Linked DNA regions of Homo sapiens: region 2 is linked to region 1. The links are contacts of gene promoters, found by promoter capture Hi-C in human tissues and cell types (Jung and others, 2019). All regions are on one chromosome and are shown on one strand. The core of a region is centred on a gene start or on the middle of the fragment in contact, and the rest is flanking DNA. Distances in the headings are between cores, read along the strand shown. Region 1 holds the start of SULT4A1 (sulfotransferase family 4A member 1). Region 2 overlaps EFCAB6 (EF-hand calcium binding domain 6).

The links. Contacts are between HindIII fragments. The study calls those that stand out against the background at their distance.
Region 2: a contact is called between a fragment that was not itself captured here and the fragment with the promoter of SULT4A1 in region 1, in 2 of the 25 tissues and cell types used here (dorsolateral prefrontal cortex and liver).

What each region holds. Positions count from the first base shown.
Region 1 is chr22:43,860,971-43,863,802 of GRCh38, reverse strand. It overlaps SULT4A1 (sulfotransferase family 4A member 1), which reads left to right and starts at 1,290. Exons shown (of 7, transcript NM_014351.4): 1 at 1,290-1,589. The coding sequence starts at 1,421. The HindIII fragment of the contact is 9,350 bases long and covers 1-2,832 here.
Region 2 is chr22:43,628,053-43,631,097 of GRCh38, reverse strand. The region is part of intron 19 of EFCAB6 (EF-hand calcium binding domain 6); the gene reads left to right. Among named protein-coding and RNA genes, the nearest start is that of EFCAB6-AS1, 110 kb to the right of the region's middle. The HindIII fragment of the contact is 3,448 bases long and covers 1-3,045 here.

The DNA of each region.
Region 1 (2,832 bases), core at 41-2,540:
CTTTGTGCTTCCCCAGGCATGTTAGTAGGTGCTTCATATATGTCTGTTGAGTGCATGACTGGCAAGGGGTTGCACTGAGATCTCTAGAACTCGGTTGCTCTCAAATTATAGTTTGCACAAGAAGTGCCTTACTAAATGTATATTTTTGTAATTTTTCTCCATAGATCTGGGGTCCTGGAATTTGCAATCCAACACTCCCCTCCCCTACTCATGGGATATTAAGAAGCACTTTTTGGCTGGGCGAGGTGGTTCACACCTGTAATCCCAGCACTTTGGGAGGCCAAGGTGGGCAGATCACGAGGTCAGGAGATTGAGACCATCCTGGCTAACACGATGAAACCCCGTCTCTACTAAAACAAACAAACAAAAAATACAAAAAATTAGCCAGGCATGGTGGCATGTGCCTGTAGTCCCAGCTACTCGGGAGGCTGAGCCAGGAGAATGGCGTAAACCCGGGAGGTGGAGCTTGCAGTGAGCTGAGATCGCGCCCCTGCACTCCAGCCTGGGCGACACAGCGAGACTCCATCTCAAAAAAAAAAAAAAAAAAAAAAAAGCAAAAAAAAAGCACTTTGTTTTTTTGGCTGGACTAGGTGGCCCATACTTTTTTTTTGTTGTTGTTAGAAGATCTCGTCCTGTTGCCCAGACTGGAGTGCAGTGGTGCAAGCTCACAGCTCACTGCTAATTTTTTTTTTTGTATGTTTGTAGAGATGCGGTTTCACCATTTACCCAGGTTGGTCTCGAACTCTTGACCTCAGGAGATCCGCCCGTGCTCGACCTCTCAAAGTGCTGAGATTACAGGCGTGATCCACCGCGCCTGGCGAAGACGCATATTTTTAATAGGACCTAATATTTACCTGAAATTATCTTGGTTATTTACCAATGTAAGCTCCAACAGGGCCAGGCTTCTGCTTGCTTCTACCCTGACGCGTGTCGGGGCCCTGGCCCAGTGCCTGGCACAGATCAGCAGCGCGCTAAGCACGTGTTGAATGGACGACTACCTTTCAGGGCCTTCCAGCCAGGGTATCTCATGCGTCTGTGTTGAGCGCTTGCTGAGTGACAGAAGCTATGAGCGGAATGAACGCACGCACGACTGAGGAGGCTGCAGACCGCGGGCCAGGGTCTCTGTCAGCCCCGGCAGCGGGTGGGTGACCCCGGCCGGGGGCGGGGCGGGGAGGACGCGGCTCCGCGGCGCCATGACGTCACGCCCGTGCAGCGCCGCGGCCGCGTGCCGGGCGGCGCCATGACGTCATACCCGCGGAGCCTCCGCCGCGCGTCGGCGGCGCCATGACGTCACGCCTGCGGAGCTGCCGCCGCGCGCCGGTGGGGCGCGAGCGTGTGCGGGGCGCGGGCGCGGGCGCGGGCGCGGGCGCGTGCGGGCTGCGAGCCGGGAGGCGGCGGCGGCGACGGCGACGGCGGCGGCATGGCGGAGAGCGAGGCCGAGACCCCCAGCACCCCGGGGGAGTTCGAGAGCAAGTACTTCGAGTTCCATGGCGTGCGGCTGCCGCCCTTCTGCCGCGGGAAGATGGAGGAGATCGCCAACTTCCCGGTGCGGCCCAGCGACGTGTGGATCGTCACCTACCCCAAGTCCGGTGAGCCCCGCGCCGACCGCGCCCGCCACGCCATGCCCCAGCCCTGCAGCGCGGCCGCGTAGACGCCGCGCCCGCGCCCGGGGCTTCTGCTGGGCCGGGTGGTCGCCCTTGGCCTCCGCCCCTGCCGTGCCCACCGCTCTCCCGATGCTCGGATCCCTGCGGGGCGGGGTGGGGTGGGGTGGGGGTGGGAAGGGGCTTGGTTCTCATCTGGGGAAACCAAGGTCAGAGACCTTCGGGAGCGGCCCCTTCCGTGGAGATGGAGCCTATTTGGCCGGCGCTGCAGGAGGATGGGCCCAGGGCCGCCACCCATCCCTGCTTCTCCCTTTACCTGGCTGGCTGTGTGACCTTGGACAGGTCACTCAACCTCTCTGTTCCTGAATCCTGCCCAACCTTTGATGAGTGCAAAGTCCTGGTGTTCACCTGGGAAGGGAGATAACATGGGCGTCAGGGCTTTCAGCGTGGAAACGTAACGTCCCTCCTTTCCAGCCTGGGCTCCGGGTGGGGGATGGGACCAGTCCCCGCCTGGAGTGCCTTGCTTGTACATTCTCTTGTTTCAGGGCTGCCTCCATCACCGAGGCAGGACCTGGGGCATTCACATTTCCCAGCATTAGCTGACGTCACTTTCACAATAACAGCTGTGTGAGCTAGTGGTGGTCATTCCCACTTTACAGTCTAGGCACAGAGGCTCAGAGAGGGGAAGAGGCTGGTCCAAGGTCACTCAGCTGGTGAGTGGCTGACCTGGGAATTAAAGCTAGGCTGGTCTGTTTCCAGACCTGAGGTAGGAGATTGTATAGTACCCCATCTGAGGTTTTTAGGGAAAGGAGGTAGCAGCTTTCCTGTTCTGTAAACATGCCCTGGGATTTCCTTGTTGCCACTGTATTTGAGGCAATCACAGCGTGGTTTAGAAGGTGTCTGGCTCTAAGGTCACGCCGGACCAGCAGTCGGGCAGTTTCAGGAAAAGCTGTAGGCTTGGCTGTTGTAGCTGTATGGAGTTCCAGACACCTGAGGGCAGGTCTCTGACATTCTTCTGAGGAAGATTGGAGTAGGGACTCTCAGTGGAGGGTGTTGGTTGGAGAACAGAGCGTTCGATGGGCTGCTATCTTGAGCACATGCCAGTCGCCGCATGGGGTGGGACCTAAAATGCTTTAGGAATGGCTAAGCGTGTCGTTGGCTTCTGTGGCCACTCATTAAGTCCTGCGGGCCAAGTGCTCTATCGCTGTTAATCTGTGAGGGACTCTTACAC
Region 2 (3,045 bases), core at 286-2,785, 230 kb after region 1:
AGGGCAACACCCCATTTCCTGTGCTCTGAGGCACCTCCCCAGACTGATCACCCCTGGAGATTCATTTTGGTTACCAGGCTCCCGTTTCCACATGCCCGTGTATTTATGACATCAGTCCAGCTTAGACTTTCTAGCAGGGCTCAGATTTTGAACATTCTGTCCAGTTTTCAGAATGTGCATCCTAATTTTTGGTTTGAAAAAATATGATCGCCATATGCATACATGGAGACGGATTGGTCCTAATGATCTCATCCAGGCTAAGTGGCCAGCCAAGAGGAGCACTCTGGGAACCACTGGCCTGTGGGCTCCAGCGTGGAGGAGGCAGGGGTCATTTAAGTGGGGAGTGCCTGGTCCTCCAAAGGAGAGCCGAGCTGGGTGGGAGGCAGCGGCCGCTGCAGGGAGAGAGAGCAGAACGGAGGCAAAGGCTCCAGGAGCAGACTCCCTTCTGTGCTGGTCGGCAGGGCCTCCACGGGCACCCTAACTGTAGAGGCCTGGCAGCTGCCTCACTGCACCTTGCCCATTGCAATGCAGGCCCCTCCCTGTTCCCTCTCTCAGACTCTCTCCTCTCTTCCTCACACACTCCTCGCGTCTCCCAGTGGAGGCCGTGGGAAGCCCAGCTCCACGCTACATCGTTGCTTTCCTATCTTTACGATCAGTGAAGCTTGGCTACAGCCAACGTATATCCTGTGTTTTCCAAAGAGATCTCTATTTTAAATAATGAATTCATTCAACAGACCATCACCGACACCCACTCTATCCCGCCAGAGAATTTATCAACTAGTGGGTGAAACAGAGGAGTGAACCCCTAATTGCCAGTTTTTATGTGAGACAGACTGGATGCGGGTTATGTCCGGGGCTCGTGAGGACTTGGCTTGTGTCCTTGCAGGTATACGCAAAGTGGACAAAGCACGGGTCTCAATTTTTTAATGGGATGGTACAGTCACTTTTTTTGAATTTTTTTGGTAGAGACGAAGTCTTGCTACGTTGCCCAGGCTGGTCTCAGACTCCTGGGCTCAAGCGATCCTCCGACCTCAGCCTCCCAAAGTGCTGGGATTACAGGCATGAGCCACTGTCCCTGGCCTCATATATCTTTTAGAAACAAATAGGATTAACCTGTCAACCCACAAATAGGGTCACAGTACACTCAGTTCTCTGCAACTTCACTTTGCACTTCACAATTCGTCTTGGACTCCTGGCCCTCGCAGGATTGTCTCATCCATGTGCATCTCTGACCGGAGTGCCCACTGTGCTCTCAGGATACATCCTGCTCCCGCCTGGCCGGCCCACAAGACCCCTCACCCCCTCACCCTTTCCTGCCTCTAAGCGTTTGCACATTCTGTTCCTTTGCTTGGATGGCGCCTCCCCTTTGACCAGTGGACTCCTCCCCAAGCTTCTGTCCTTCTCAAGCCCTTCACATCAGCTGAGAGGTTGCCACTGCACATTCCCCTCTCTCCTCACGTCCCTCATAGCACACAGCCCGCAGGGTGCTGCAGTTAGATTCAACAGTGAGCCCCGAGCCATTTCTACATCATTCACCACAGTAACCCAAGGGGCTGCCACAGTGCCTGCCACAATGCACATGACCGATTTGTATTTGCTGATTGAACACACCACACCTGATGCTGGGCAGCGAACTGGAGGGCCACACACAGGGCCTTGTGTGTTCTGACACCCGCAACCACCCTGTCAAGTAGGTTTAATGTTCCCGTGTTATGCTGGATACCCTGAGGGTCAGAGACGGGGAAAAAGTGACACAAAGCCACACCTCTAGTACATGGCACCGTCAGGAACTGAAATAACACCGGCTCGATTCCAAAGCCTCTGTACTACGCACTAACATTGGGGAAGCTGAAGACTGAGATTTGAGGAATGATTAGTTTATAAACTTGTGAAGATTAGCCATGTATGATCTCATAGCATCTAGCTTGTCCCTGGAGTCCAGAATCCAGGCTGGCCCCACCTGGCCCTCACACCTCTGTCCCTGCAGTAATCACGCTGGATTGCCATGATTTGCTTCCTGTCTTGCTTCCCTAGTAGATAGACAGTGAGGACCTGGGTGTCAGGGCCCACGTTGCAGTTATGGTGTCTGTGTACCCAGCAGAGTGCTTTGTGCCTAGGAAATGCTGCTCCTTCATGTCCAGCAGCCCCATCTCACAGACGTTATGGTGAGCATGGCTCGGAGAGCTGGAGCTGCAACAGGGAACAGATCAGAGCCCAGACTCATGCTTATGTTCTAGGGGGAAGTGCAGTGGACACAGAAACCTCTACTAGATCAGGTGGTGACATGTGCCAAAGAGAAAAGTAGAGGATCGTGGGAGGCCAGTCAGGGCTGGTGCCATTGTACAGAGGAGTCAGGAAGTGCCTCTCTGGAGAGGGGACACTCAGACACAGTCATGAAGGAGCCAGAGTGAGCCCTGCGGACACTGGAGAGGGCTCCCTGCGATACCCTGAAGCAGGCTCGGCCTGTTCAGAGAACAGTGAGGGGACGGGTGGGATGGGGGTGTAGACAGGCTTGTGGGCCACGGCCAGGCCTTGGCCTTGGACTCTGAGTGAGAAGGAGAGTCAAGGGGGTTGAGCAGAGGCGCCTCATGCATGACGTCAGCTGTAAGGGATCGCTCGGGAGCGATTGCACAGAGCAGAGGCCACGGAGCCGACGATGGCAGCTGGGAGCCATCACGAGGTTCCTGCAGGACTCCAGCGACCTTGGGTGGGGGCCGAGGTGGTGTGCCTGGGAGAGGGGGTCCAGTGCTAATGCACTCTGAAGGGAGAGCCAGCGGGATGTGTGGGCAGACTGGATGTGGGTGTGAGAGGAAGCGAGGGCTCAGAAGGGCTCCCAGGTTTGTGTCTGAGCAACCAGGAGGAAAGAGCTCCACTTACTGAGATGGGAAGACTTAGGAGGAGTAGGGTGGGGACAGGGGGTGGAGGTCAGGAGTTTGATTTGGGCCATGTTCAGTTTGACATCCCAGAGAAAATGCCCCCAGACCACTGGAGATGTGAGGCTGTGGGTCAGGGGGGTGGCGGCTTGGGGCTGAGAGTATAGAGGGA